Linked DNA regions of Homo sapiens: regions 2, 3, 4 and 5 are each linked to region 1. Evidence: promoter capture Hi-C in 16 types of primary human blood cells and fetal thymus (Javierre and others, 2016). All regions are on one chromosome and are shown on one strand. Each heading gives the region's core, a stretch centred on a gene start or on the middle of the fragment in contact. The rest is flanking DNA. Distances are from core to core; before and after follow the strand shown.

Evidence for each region. Contacts are between HindIII fragments. The CHiCAGO score rates a contact against its expected background, and 5 or more counts as called.
Region 2: a contact is called between a fragment that was not itself captured here and the fragment with the promoter of CLEC9A in region 1, in 1 of 17 cell types (neutrophils). The highest score is 5.1, in neutrophils.
Region 3: a fragment that was not itself captured here is called in contact with the fragment with the promoter of CLEC9A in region 1 in 6 of 17 cell types (megakaryocytes, M2 macrophages, M0 macrophages and 3 more); the score reaches 13.6 in megakaryocytes.
Region 4: a fragment that was not itself captured here is called in contact with the fragment with the promoter of CLEC9A in region 1 in 2 of 17 cell types (megakaryocytes and neutrophils); the score reaches 5.7 in megakaryocytes.
Region 5: a contact is called between a fragment that was not itself captured here and the fragment with the promoter of CLEC9A in region 1, in 5 of 17 cell types (monocytes, neutrophils, M0 macrophages and 2 more). The highest score is 15.5, in monocytes.

The regions. Positions count from the first base shown.
Region 1 is chr12:10,029,211-10,032,124 of GRCh38, forward strand. It overlaps CLEC9A (C-type lectin domain containing 9A), which reads left to right and starts at 1,472. Exons shown (of 9, transcript NM_207345.4): 1 at 1,472-1,762. It overlaps LOC102724020 (a long non-coding RNA gene), which reads right to left and starts at 1,413. Exons shown (of 4, transcript NR_169587.1): 1 at 1,333-1,413. The HindIII fragment of the contact is 4,478 bases long and covers 1-2,914 here.
Region 2 is chr12:9,790,117-9,793,030 of GRCh38, forward strand. No RefSeq gene overlaps it. Among named protein-coding and RNA genes, the nearest start is that of CD69, 31 kb to the left of the region's middle. The HindIII fragment of the contact is 2,133 bases long and covers 314-2,446 here.
Region 3 is chr12:9,808,913-9,811,826 of GRCh38, forward strand. It overlaps a transcript of KLRF1 not described here. Among named protein-coding and RNA genes, the nearest start is that of KLRF1, 17 kb to the right of the region's middle. The HindIII fragment of the contact is 590 bases long and covers 1,187-1,776 here.
Region 4 is chr12:9,828,143-9,831,056 of GRCh38, forward strand. All of the region lies in intron 1 of KLRF1 (killer cell lectin like receptor F1), which reads left to right. Among named protein-coding and RNA genes, the nearest start is that of KLRF1, 2.1 kb to the left of the region's middle. The HindIII fragment of the contact is 1,013 bases long and covers 857-1,869 here.
Region 5 is chr12:10,205,672-10,208,585 of GRCh38, forward strand. No RefSeq gene overlaps it. Among named protein-coding and RNA genes, the nearest start is that of GABARAPL1, 5.7 kb to the right of the region's middle. The HindIII fragment of the contact is 3,050 bases long and covers 1-2,914 here.

The DNA of each region.
Region 1 (2,914 bases), core at 222-2,721:
TGATGAACAAGTGGATAAAGAAAACATAGTGTGTGTGTGTGTGTGTGTGTATATATATATATATATATATATATATATATATATATATATATATACAAGAAAAAACTTTCCACAAGAACCTCCATGTCCTCATTTAGAATTTAATTTAATTTTTTACCTCACACACCTCTTTTTTTTTTTTTTTACTTCCACTTGACACCTTTCTGGGGTAATAGGTATGTTGTACCTGAATTCCACTCTCCCTCAAAATATCTGTCTCAAATTTGTATATACATTAGTAGGTATCAATCAGGAAGGTCTCCCTCAACCCATTCAATAGGCCCTGCCACAAAATTTGAAAAGTTTAAAAAATTCAGAGCCCTGCTTATGTACATGGGTGTACATTTTTGCAGACAAAAATCCCCTGTGCCCTACCTACTCAGCAATCTTCCCCCTTCCTATCAATCTTCCTCTTCCCCTGAATCATTGGTCACAACTGATCTCTTTGTTTTCTTTGTCTTGGTTTTTCTCGAATGTCATATAGCTAGGATAATATGATAGCTTTTCAAACCGGCTTCTTTCACGTAGTAATATGCATTTAAGATTCCTCCATGTTTTTCATAGTTTGACAACATTTCATTTTGTTGTCGAATGATACTCCATTGCATGAATGTACCACAGTTTGTTTATCCACTCATCTTTTGAAAGACATCATAATTACTTCTAATGTCTGGCAATTATGAATAAAGCTCCTGTGAAAATGTGTGTGCCAGTTTTTGTGTGTGTTGGGAGCAAGCCCCCCAAAATCCGGCCATAAACTGGCCCCAAAACTGGCCATAAACAAAATCTCTGCAGCACTGTGACATGTTCATGATGGCCCTAACACCCATGCTGGAAGGTGGTGGGTTTACGGGAATGAGGGCAAGGAGCAGCTGGCCCGCCCAGGGTGGAAAACCACTTAAAGACATTCTTAAGCCACAAACAATAGCATGAGCAATTTATGCCTTAAGGGCATGTTCCCGCTGCAGTTAACTAGCCCAACCTATTTCTTTAATTCGGCCCATCCCTTTGTTTCCCATAAGGGATACTTTCAGTTAACCTAATATCTACAGAAACCATGCTAATGACTGGCTTGCTGCTAATAAATACGTGGGTAAATCTCTGTTCGGGGCTCTCGGCTGTGAAGGCTGTGAGACCCCTCATTTCCCACTTCACACCTCTATATTTCTGTGTGTGTCTTTAATTCCTCTAGCGCCTCTGGGTTAGGGTCTCCCAGACCGAGCTGGTCTCAGCAGTGTGTACAGGTTTTCCACTTTCTATGGTTCCTAGATTGTCTGTTAATACTATACTTACCTCTATAAGAAACTGTCAAGTTTACCGGGCCGCGAGGGTGCAGGCTGCGCAGATGGTGTGGTCCTGCGCCCCGAGGGCCGCAGCAGCTCATCCGGCAGCTCCCACCCCAACAACCTGGAAGGGGGCGGGACTTCCGTTTGTACCCGGCTGTGGCAATCTGTGGTGAAGTTGAAATGCTTTTCTGCTAGACTGGCAACATGTTTTGATTCTTCTCAAATAACTCGCAAGCTCTTGTGAAGCACAACGGCCTACCTTGTCCTGAAGAAAACATACTCTAAGGCCCACAGATGATTAAACCCAGCCATTTATGTGACAATAGCATTTTTATTTTTCTTATCAAGATCTGGGTATTTGATCCACACAATGGTAAAGATTCCCATGTTAGCCAAGATCTAAATGATTCAAACTGATGATACTCTCTGCAGAAGAGGTAAGAACCACTGGCAGTAGGGTGGAAGGTATGTCATTACAGATGATGCTGACAGAGAAGGTCATCTGAACCTACTTTATAAGAAAGGCATGATTAAAGGAGAAAGGGGAAAGGGCATTCTAGGTTAGGAAAGATTCTGAAGAAATGTAAAATAATATGAAGGTGTGAGCTGATATATTTAAGAAATAATGAATGATATGTGGGAGTATGTATCATCTGCAGAGATGGATGAGGGAAGATGCAAGTGGAGGGGAAGGCTGGAGCCGCTGGTGGAAAGACGTTAAGTGTATTTCAATGGCCTGATACTGCAGGCAGTAGACAGCCTCTGTAAATCAGGTAGCTTCCTTACTCTTGCTCCTACTGATCCCTCAGTCTAAAATGCCCTCTGCACTTTCTCTTTAGAGATAGAGAGGGAAAGGGAGTCAAACACGAAATCTCCAGGAGGCCATCCCTGGTTATTTCTTACTCCTCTGTTGATTTCCTTTAATCTGTGAAGTGTCTTCTAACTCGTGGCCTGAGGCTTTAGTGACTCTGCTGACTCATTGTCTGGTGCTACTGATTGTGCTAATGGTCTTCGATATTGTGTCCAGTGCCCCCCACCATTTTGGGAAGAAATTGGCTTTAGTTTTTACTCAGATTGAAATTTTATTTAGAAACGGGAGTAGCAAGACCAGGTGCAGTTAGTTACACCTGTAATCCCAGCATTTTGGAAGGCCAAGGTGGGAGGATTGCTTGAAGCCAGGAGGTTGAGAAATGGGAGTAGCAACCAATGTCGGTAGAAGAAACAGCATATAATAACAGGATGTGATAAATCTCAAGAAAAGTTACGCACAAATTACTATGGCAGCAGGAACGAGTGAGCCGCCCGATGCTGTCAGTGAAGGCTCTGAGGATTGGGAAGGATTGGCAGGGTTACAGGAGACAAACAAATGCTACAAATAACATTCCAAGTAGAAGGGGAAGTGAGGGTAGGGAAAGGAATGCAGACAAGGCTGAGCCTTGTTTGGAGAGCTAAGTTCAGTGTTGCAGATGCTCAATGTCATACCTTAGGAGGGAATTGCAAATTAAAACAACAATGAGAAACCACTGTATACTATTTGAATGACTAAAATCCAAAATACTCACAACATCCAATGCTGGCAAGGATGTGGA
Region 2 (2,914 bases), core at 130-2,629, 240 kb before region 1:
TTCTTTTTACTTAGGATTGCTTTGGCTATTCAGGCTCTTTTTTTGGTTCCATATGAATTTTAGAATTGTTTTCTGTAGTTCTGTGAAAAATGATGTTGATATTTTCATGGGAATTGCATTGAATCAGTAGATTGCTTTGGGCAGTGTGGTCATTTTCATGATATTGATGATCATATTATTATAGAAATTATTAAGAAATTATTTCAGGCAGATAGGATAAGTGGTCCTTGGTAAGGTTTTTTTCTTTAAATAAAAGCAGCTCCAGAAACATTTCTTTTTTAGCAAAAAAATGGCTTGAAGGGCCAAGCCAGCAAGCTTTGATATGCAAATGCTGGCTATTAGAAGCTGGGTCCATCCAATATGGCAAGTCCCACCTTCTTCTCCTTGTCACCACATGTGCCAAGCATCATGGCACCCCCAGAGGTCTCCACTGTGCAGAAAATCATGGCGGCCTGCATTTGCATATTAAAAGACTAGGGTGGGAGAGCCAGTTTTTTTGCAGGCTATGTGAATGACATACTAAGTCAAACCAATCCCCTGGGCCTATAAAAATCAGACACCACCTCCTCCAGCCTTCTAATATAACAGATTGTTTCCACCATACTTGGGGTTTCCTCTCTCTGCTTGGAGCCACCCCCACCCCTCACCGACCCCCCGTCTCTGTAGCTGGGAGCTTCTTCTTTCTTTCTTGCCTATTAAACTCTCTGTTCCTTAAAACCACTCCATGTGTGTCCATGTTGTCTTATCTAAATTGGCGTGAGACAAAGGACTCTGGTGTTCCTCCATTCATTGAAGCTGTATCAATATTTTGTATCATTTCAATGAACTACTATAGGCAGCCCATCCCTTAAGTTTCCCTCTTAAGTTTTTTGGTCAGCTTTTCCTTTGCCCCAGCTGTTATTCCATATTAAGCAGCTGCAATGTACAGCAATAGGTGCTGATTGTTTTTGTCAAATACCCCTAGGGAAAAAGTCATTTGCACTGAGCGAGCTCTGTTTGAGATCAACTAAAGTCGTAGGTGGGAATTTCCAAGATCATGTTTGATAGTTTGAATAATGACAGTACTCTAAGAATAATTTTTGGGACTTCTAAACCCTTTATGGCCCCTCTGAGACCTGTTGGGCTACAGTTCACTACTGCTACTATAGTTGTAAGACCTACTATAGTTTTTCAAGGCTACTGTGAAGCTGAGGAATACGGAATAGGAATAGAGCAAGTTAAATCTCCACAAAGGTCACTGTTTTCAATTAAATTCACCTATTTTCTTGAGTAAATGCTTGCCAGATTTTTGCAAGTCTTTGGTTAATTCACAGTATTCTGAGGAAGTTTGTTTTGACAGTTTTTGTCAATGTTCTTGTTGATTTTATGAAGGAATAGCTTTTTGTAGGTCTTTATTCCACTGTTTCTGCTCATGTCTGGCAAGACAATTAAGCAGGTAATTATGAGGGCATGTAGAACACATCTTGGAGAATTTATTCTCAAGGTGGCATTCTATAAAATTATGTAAATATTTAATCTGAGAAGTGAAAGATGAGACAGTTTTCCAGGTGAATAAGGCAGAGGAAAAACAACAACAACAACAACTTTGTAGACAAGGGTAAAATGTACAAGTCTTAGAGATGGGAGAAAGAATGGTCCACTACAGTGAGACTGAAGAATGGAACAAGAGACAAAGCCAGATTACAGGGTGAAATCAATGCTGTTAAATAGTCTGGAATTATTCTAAGTGCAGAAAGAAAGTAATAAATTCTTATAAATTTGGGACAAATTGCAATTAGATATTAATTTTTGGAAGTTAACAGGTGCAATTTTTGGAAGTTACTCAGTCTAACAGGTGCAAGATGAACTGGAATAAAGGGATACCATAGAGAGATGACTGCCTTTAAGACCAATGCAGTGGAAGTAGAGATGATGGAAAGTTGTTGAATTAAAGACATTACTAGTCATTACAGTCTATGATTTATTAGGTAGGGTCATTTAATCAGAAAAAAATGCAGACAGAGAGTCAAGGATGGCCTTCATGCTTTGATTCCTAAAACTGTGGGCAGTATTCTTTCAAATGAGTCAGAAATTAGGGGGTAAAATTAGATTTAGAAAAGAATCAAAATGATCACTTTTGTTTCTGGAATATGTGGGAGATTGAGTTGGATATTTTAATGGACTTTTGGATATATGCTGCTAGCCCTAAGCAAAGGAGTCTGATCAGGAAAATTTATCTATCTATCTATCTATCTATCTATCTATCTATCTATCTATCCATCTATCTATCTATCTATCTGCATATATGTGTGTATATATGTATATATATGTGTGTGTGTGTGTGTATATATATATATATGTCTTCCTTATCTTTTGATTTAAAAACTGGTTTTCCATTTACAATGGGTGCAATGGTGTGTCTCCACTTTGGACTGAAGCCTCATTGTCTCAGCACCTGGGAGTCAGAAGCTTTCAACTGAATCTTCCTTGTATGGCTCTCAGCTAAACAGAAGTGCCTTCTCAAAGTCACACTTTCTCCCAGTGCCAGATGTATCAAACGGCTGGTTCGTGTGGGAGTATAAAAGCTTGGACTTGTTGCCTTATATCAAGATAAACTTGAAAGGGCACTCACCTCCAGAGCTCCCTATACTGTTAGCTGAAGCCTTTGTGTTACTGCATCACAATTCAATATCTGCCTTTGCCCAATCCTTTCTTTCTCATCCACAGGTACTTAACATCCTTTATGTAATCCTTCATCTGAGAGTCTGTTTTTGAGGAACCTGACCTGTAACACAGCCTGAAGAAATTTGGGGACAAATCCTAGCAAAAAATTGGGATATCATTCTTGATGTATTTATTTTTTGGATGATACATATCATTTTACTCCCTAAGAGCCATACCAATCAATACTACAAAAGAATGAGCAAACGGAATT
Region 3 (2,914 bases), core at 232-2,731, 220 kb before region 1:
AGGTTAGGTGCCATTAGTTAGGAGAGAGATCATTTTCTATATGCCAGAATGTTTTGCATTTCATTCTCTCTTACTCCACATTTTATAAATGCTTAGGTTAATATATTCAATGTATAGATGACATACAACTTGGATATCTAATACACTGAGTAATAGAATCATAAACTCCAAACATTCTGCATTTCGGAGAAAATTGAGAGTTTAGCGAGATGAATTTTTTAAGTGTATTAAAATCTAAACTGAAGAAGTTAACAAGATGGGAAGAATTGCCTTTATTTGTAGATGTATGCAAGAGCACTAGGGGAAATTCAATGACCAACAAGCTCAAAATAAGATTGTGTGAAGTAATGAATTTTAGGTAAAATCAATACAAATATATCTAAAAAGAAAGGGTGGGACTTTTTTCCTCCATTCCTGGCCCAATTCTTTGAAATAATTTTTATGTGATTGTTTCAAACCATCTTAACTTTCTCTTAGTTTTCCTCTGCATACATGCACATATGTAAATGCCTACTTTTAAGAGTACAGATGAGAAAAAACAGGGATTTGAATTAGTTGAAACCGTAACTTAAGTATTATTTCCAGGAACTAAAGCTACTTAGCCAGAATCAGGAAAAGGGCTGCTGGGAATAAGTTTGTTAACGTAAATTGTTCCAACAGCTGTCATATTGATGTTACGCTTAGTTTACTGGCTCCAGAAGGCAGAATTGATACCAATTCTTGAAAGAAGCATCCATATACCCCAGTTAATTTTGATTATGTCATGAGATTTTGTGTAGTATTCAAAGATAAATTGTTATTATTGTTGGAAAAAGCGGGTTACTTAGATTTAAACTTAGGTTAAGAAAATTGATTTAAAAAAATAAGTTCCACTTTCAAAAGTTGTTATTCTATTGATAAATCTGTTTTTTTTAATGCTGCTTTATTTGATGTAAAACTACTGTTTTGAAAATATTGACTGTGCCTATGGATTAATGTATCAAACAAAATCACCCCATGAATAAATCAAATATTTATTTATTTACCTGAAGTATACAAAAGGAGAATGACATAAAGATCAATTAGCAAGGTTGATAAATCTGCAAGAAACAAGCTTCTCAGTCCTAAATTTCATCATTAAATCACTGAAACTCAGAGTTGTGAATGACAACATCTGAATAGTGAGTGTCAACATAGATTTTCTACAAGCTTGAGGGTTTTTATCTAGGAACAATTCTGTTTGTAGGTCATCCTGGATATATTCAAGGGACCATTATTTTTGGTATTATACAATATAACTTGATGTTCTCATAGTCAAATGTGAATGCATTTCTCATACTTTATCTGAATCCTCCCAAATTAACAATGTGGTCCAAGTATATTCCCAAAATTAGAGTTTCTGAGCCTGAACGGAAGTTAAGCTCCCAGAAATCGCAGGTAGCTGTGTTAATAAGTGGTTAGAATAACTAGGGCTTATCTTTTGTGTGTCCTTTGATAAATTTAAACAAATTAAATTCCTCTCCAAGATAGGTCTGATTCACAAACTTAATGACTATATGCTTAAATTTTCACCTATAGTTTAATGAAATGTTTGTTTTTAAAAGATGTTTGAAGTCTAAAATAGACTCCCCAAACAGTGTCTGACATGTAATAAGTCCTCAGAAAATAATTCATAAATATTGAATGACTAGTAGGATATTAAAATGTGGTCATTCCTGCTGTTTACTTTTATCTGAGGGCACAAATGTCAAGAACAATTCTATAGGTGCTAGACCTCCTATATAGGACATGCTAACAAGCTTGCAAAAGTGTTTATTTCAAATTTCGATCTATCATCTACTTTCAGAGCACATTAAGAGTTTATGAGTGTTCAGAGATTAGGAAGTGAGAATTTTTTTTATGAAGTGACTTGCCAGTGTACTTCCCATTTCCCAATATCTTTCTGTGTCAATAAGCAAAAGAACTTCTCTTTTACCTTAAGCCAAGTTTGGATTCTGTCATATATTGGCAAGTGTCCTCTGGGAGTTGGAGGTTGCAGAGGTGAACACTTTCAGTATGTGAGTTTGTTAGAACTACACATAACCACAGAGTAAAAGCAGATGTGTAGATTAAGCCACACTTCCAGCAATGGTGAGGCTGAAGGGAGTGTTTCCTGTGGGCCGGATGAAGATCTCATACAAAGCAGCCATTTGGGAACCATCCTAAAATAAAATTCACCTAAGACTGCTTCTTACCACAGGCAAGTCAGCCTCAATGAAAAGAAGCTGGAAGTATAGAGTAGAAAGCAAAAAAAAAAAAGGTACCTGGGGAGTTGTGAGGGGTGAGGTACAGTGATTTGCAAGCAGGATTGCCAAAGGAGACATCACACATCAGACAACTGCAGAGTACCCCAGGAGCAGAATTTCTGAAAAACCCATAGAAGTAGTCCAAAAAAAAAAAAAAAAAGAGAGAAAACATTTGGAGTGTCAGCATACAGATTAAAACTGTCCAGGCTGGTAACATCTTTATTCCGTGTTTATTTCTATTCCCTTTGTTTCACCTTCACTCATTCTGGGGATCAGGGTTGGGGAATGGAAAGAGATACTAGAGAGGGAAGAAGCTCATGCAGAGCCCGTTATACTCACTTGCCCCCTTAATGGTCCCAAACTAAGCAGATCCAATCCAAGCTGAGAGAGAGGAAAAGTGTTAAATTAGATAAAAGTTGGACTTAAGATATTAGGCGGAATTGGATCTTTTATTATCTTCATTATCAAAAGACCATGAGATCCACAAAGGAAGGAAAGGAGAAGACTTTATTTTCAGAGGGAAAAATAACCCTAGAATTAGGGAAATGCAGCTTTCGGGAAAATCCGAAAGTTCACTCTCTGAAGAAGTGAGAGGGGGCTGGTATACATGTCTTATACAGTCAGTTTTACATACATACTGAGCAGGGTTG
Region 4 (2,914 bases), core at 113-2,612, 200 kb before region 1:
GATCTCGGCTCACTGCAACCTCTGCCTCCCAGGTTCAAGCAATTCTCCTGCCTCAGCCTCCTGAGTAGCTGAGATTATAGGTGCCCGCCACCATGCCTGGCTAATTTTTTGCGTTTTTAGTAGAGATGGGGTTTTACCATGTTGGCCAGGCTGGTCTTGAACTCCTGACCTCAGGTGATCCACCCACCTGAGTCTTCCAAAGTGTTGGGATTATAGGCATGAGCCACCGCGCCCAGCCTTTAATACTAATTTTTAATTCAACTTCTCAAAAACTTTATGCTTTTCACCAAGTTGACTCAAAATAAAGTTTATACACCAGCAATCAACATTTTAATTTGCTACTTCAAGCATACCCTCCATACACAATGCAATTCCATCATGCCACCTTAATGTGATTTGGCAAAAGAGATAAGCAGAAATTAAAGACACAAATAATCACAGTTATAGAGACTGTCTGTTCTGTTCTGTTGCTTTCTAAATATTTCTCTTTTAATAACTTCACCCATGAAAATTTTACTTATCTCTTGAGTCCTTCCACAAGTATCATCCATCAGTGATTCATCTTAGAGTTACATACGTGCTATGTATAAGAAATTTATTGCCTCTTCCATGTGAATTTTTAGATTCCCATATTTTCAAGTCTTTACTTCCTACACTCAATTTTTATTTCATTTTTGGAAATTAGAGATATTAAACCTGAAAGACTACAACATGTAGTGACTTCTCTGCAGACTTTTTTCCACACTCTGTTCATAAATGTCTCTCTGAAGCAAAAATGTGCAGATTTTCGGCTCCCAGATATTTAAGTGACACATACTAATATTTATGTCTTGTACCTTTAGCTAATATTTATTAAAGCTTGAGGTAAGACGTATTTTATGTGAATTAGATTGACAATGTGAGCCTTGGGGTTATGATGTTCATTCATTTAACTTAATTTTGTGATGACATATTTGTAAATCTTTTCTCATATATTGAAAAACCTTTGTTGCCAGTGATAGTAAGAAATTACATAATTGCTCTATCCCACTATACATATGTAGTAGTTTCAGAATCACTATAGAAATAATATTATAATAATAGTTACTTAAAACAGATTAAAATGTTTTGCGGTTTTAAAAAATCCTTAAGATATATTCCATTGAGCATGCACAGTTAAATGTTTTAAAATCACTTTAAGTAATTCCTCTCTCTATAGTGAAGACACTAACAATACCTAGTTAGATTCCTTTTCTTCATTTTTTATGGATTTTTTTTCATTTTTGTTTAACTTACTTTATAGTAGCATAAAACATTTACATATTTTCAGTCAAACTTATATAATGAGGGGCCAAGTGTGGTGGCTCATGCCATTAATCCCAGCACTTTGGAAGGCCGAGGCAGGATGATCGCTTGAGGCCAGGAGTTCAAGACCTGCCTGGGCAACAAATCAAGACCCCCATCTCTACAAACAATAGAGATAAAAAAATTAATCAGTCATGGTGGCACATGCCTGTAGTCCTAGCTACACAGGGTGCTCAGGAGGGAGGATCTCTGAGCCCAGGAGCTCAAGGTTACAAAGAGCTCTAATGGTGCCACTGCACTCCAACCTGAGCAACAGAGCGAGACCCTGTCTCAAATAAATAAATAAGAATTTAAAAAGTTTAAAAAATTACTTTCAGAGAAATCCACCTTGCATAAATCCAGCACCCTTCATAAAATTTACCATTTTGTATTTCTATATTTCCAGTGTTTACTTAGCTATTCTCACTCTTTTGTTCTTTCAGATAACTTTATAAAAAATTATTCAGGCTCACTCACCACAAACAACAACAAATAAAACAACCCGATGTAGCTTTTACGTCTAAATTACTTCCTAGTCTGTCATTAAGCTTAGGGAGAATTTATATTTTTGACACATAGTTTTCTTATCCAAGCACATGATCAAATTAATGTTACTCAGTTTTCGGTTAGTTTTGTTTTGTTTTGTTTGTATTGGGTTGGGACACTTGTCGAGTTTCTGTCTAGTTTTCTTTTTGTTTGTTTTTTTTGGTTAACTATCCGTGAGTAATGAATTTCTTTCATCTATGTTTTCACAGTGGTTACTGGATTATACAGGGCACTGATTTTAGTATGTTATTTTTATAAATGCAGCTACTATTTTTTGTTTCTGGAATTAACGGTAGTTTTTCAATTGATTCTTTTATTTTACCAAATCTGCACTCACATTACCTTCAAATAATTTTACCTTCTTTTTCTAATATTTCTACCTGTAATTAGAATATTTTTCTTCATTGAATTATATATTACCTCTTCGTATTAAAAAGTAGTGGAGATTTGAGCTATCTTTCTTTTTCTGGACTTAAGCAGAAAACCTTCTTTCAGTTTTCTCAATTGAATAAGATGTTAGCTTCATTAGACATAAAACTATTATGTTGAACAAGTATCTATTAATTTCTGTTTTTTAACATAAAGATATAAGATTTTATCAATTTCATTTTTTACATCTATTGAGATGATGATAGATTTTTTTCCTTAGCTTTATTAATATAATATTAATATGGATTTCCTCCTATTGAATAATCTTTATATTCCTAGAATAAACCAATCATGGTTATAATATATTTTGGTTGCTGATAATGTATTTACCATTTTTGTACAGACATTCATAAGACTGATTTTGGTTTTCCATTTTATTATTTCTGGTTTTGGGTGGTTAAAAGGCTTGTGTTTTAACCTTTATAAGTTAAATTAAACCATTTCCTTATAGGAGAAAACACAGGATAATGAAAGTTTTACTTTCTCCATTATTCAGCATCTTTTAAAATTTTTTTTTACTTTTATTTTTATTTTATTATTATTTTTTTGAGATGGAGTCTCGCTCTGTCGCCCAGGCTGGAGTGCAGTGGCGCGATCTCAGCTCACTACAACCTGT
Region 5 (2,914 bases), core at 163-2,662, 180 kb after region 1:
TGGTCCTCCTATGATTAAGGCAGAGAAATGTTGCCCCCTGGAATATACAGGTTGGATATAGGAGGTATGGCTCTAGATTGGTGAGTTTGCATATGAAAGGCAGGTTCTCAGCTGAGCCCTTGCTATCTCTAAGAACTGGTTAGGTCTGGTAAAGACAGTCTCTCCCCAGCCAGAATTTTTTTTTTAATGTAAAAACACCATAATATACAGAAAATAAGAAAATAAACTATCTCTCACTACTGGAACGGGCTATCTGAAACTAGGGACCTGAATGCCCTTAGAACTCCCCCAAACTCTGTATATATTTCTATGTCTCTCTATCCCTATCATATAACTTGCCTCTCTGAGTGTTATCTTTATCTCATTTATCTGGTGACTGCTTGAGACCAAAACGATAGCAGCCCCTGATCTCATAGCATCCACTATGGTCTGAACGTGTGTTTCCTCGCCAAATTTGTACACTGAAATCCTAACCCATAAGATGATGTTATTAGGAGGTGAGGCCTTTGGTAGGTGATTAAGTCATGAGAATGGAACCCTCATAAATGGATTAGTGCCGTTATAAAAGAGGCCTGAGACAGAACCCTCTTTCTTTCCTTCTGCTATGTGAGGTTGGAGTGAGAAGGCAGCTGTCTATGAGGAAGCAGGCCCTCACCAGATAGTTAATCAGCTGGCACCTTGATCTCGGACTTCCCAGTCTCCTGAACTGTGAGAAATGAATCTCTGTTGTTTATAAGCCACCCAGTCTATGGTATTTTGTTATAGCAGCTGGAATGGACTAAGACATCATCTAAACTTCGTCATCAAAGAAGAAGGGGCTCCTTTCCTTTAGTTCATATGTAAGAAATTCTAAGGAAAAATTCTGATTAATCTTATGGCCAAGGCAATGAGATTTTATGATTGGTGAGTTCCACTAGAACCATGCGGTGTCAATGTAAAAAGAGTAGTTACTTCTGAAACCATACATATATCCCCCCCCGCACCCCCCACCCGAAAAAAAAAAGGACATGTAATGGGCATCATGTTTTTTGTTCGTTTGTTTGTTTGTTTGAGACGTAGTTTTGCTCTTGTTGCCCAAGCTGGAGTTCAATGGCACGATCTCGGCTCACTGCAACCTCCACCTCCCAGTTCAAGCAATTATCCTATCTCAGCCTCTCAAGTAACTGGGATTATAGGCGCGAGCCACTACGCCTGGCTAACTTTTTGTATTTTTAGTAGAAACAAGGTTTCAGCATATTAGCTATACTGGTCTTGAACTCCTGACCTCAGGTGATCTGCCCACCTCAGCCTCCCAAAGTGCTGGGATTACAGGTGTGAGCCACCACACCCAGCCAGCATCATCTTATCTAATGAACAATGCATCATTATCAGTGCTATGGCAAAGATAAGCACACAATACTTTGCAAGTGCCTAGAAGGAATACAGAACTCAGGCAAAGGAGATCAAAAGGTTTCCTAGAGAAGATGATGCCTGAACTAAACCCTGAATGTTTTATAGAAACTAGTCAGAAAAAAAAAGGGAGAAAACGTTTTCACAGGAAGGAGGCTTTGAATATCCAGTGGTCTGAAACAATACCAATATAGGGAAAATAATTTAGTATGCCTGAACCATAGAGTACAATGATAGGAAATGGCTATATATGAGCCTCAAGAGAGAAACAACAGCCTGATTGTAAGTACTCTATTTCCGTTGTAAAGAATTTGAACTGTCTCCCAAAGATTACAGAGAATGCTGACCACTGAATGATATTAAGAAGAGAAATGACACAATGAAATATAGCTTTATTACATTTAGTCTGGCATCAGTGAGCTCTCTTTTTCCTAGAAGTGGGAAAGACAAGACTGAACACTATTTACTAATGTGTTTGAGTAATAATGTTTTGTTTGTTTGTTTGTTTGTTATTTTGAGGTGGAGTTTCACTCTTGTTGCCCAGGCTGGAGTGCAATGCCGCGATCTTGGCTCACTGCACCCTCTGCCTCCCGGGTTCAAGTGATTCTCCTGCCTCAGCCTTCTGAGTAGCTTGGATTACAGGCATGCACCACCACGCCCAGCTAATTTTGTATTCTTAGTAGAGACGGGGTTTCTCCATGTTGGTCAGGCTAGTCTCAAACTCCCGACCTCAGGTGATCTGCCCGCCTTGGCCTCCCAAAGTGCTGGGGTTACAGGCGTGAGCCACCGCGCCTGGCCCAATAGTGGTGATTTTGAAGCATATTCTCAGATTCTCCAATACTTCCTCCAGGTAGAAGTGGAGTCTGTGGCACCTTCCTTTGAATCTGAGCAGAACTTTGTGACTGCTCTGAGAAACAGAATGAGGCAGAAGTGTCCCTTTCAAATTAAAATGACTAGATTACAAGAGGCCATGTGCTTTCTGCTGACTTCTTTTGGCAAATTTGCCCAGAGAGCCCATAGGTACCATGAAAGAAGTTTAGCTAGCCTGCAGCCACTATGGGAAGAGACCCATGGTGAGATCCTATAGAGAAAGGAAGAGGTGGCTGAGGAGCGCCAATTGTTTGAGTCTTCCCAGTCCAACTACCAAAACTGCTAGTGAAGAAGCCTTCCAAGAAGATCCTATCACCAGTCACTAATTAAAACCAAAGCTGAGCCCCATTACTTCAGATTTGTGAGCAAAATAGATGATGCTATTATCTTAAGCCATTCCTTTGAGGTGGTTTGCTATATAGCAACAGATCATTAGAACGAAGCCAAAATTTTTAAAAAATGAAGATTAAACTAAGGTAGTGGCAGCTGCAATGAAGCAATGTAAGCACACAAATTATTAAGGAGGAAAACCCACTCATGTATAGTTCAGGGGCAGGAAATATTTTCCTAGTCTTGGAGTCAGCCAGGCACATCGTGGTGGTATTTGACACTTGATCTGTGGATGGCAGCTTATTTAAAAATTCAAATTAAGTAA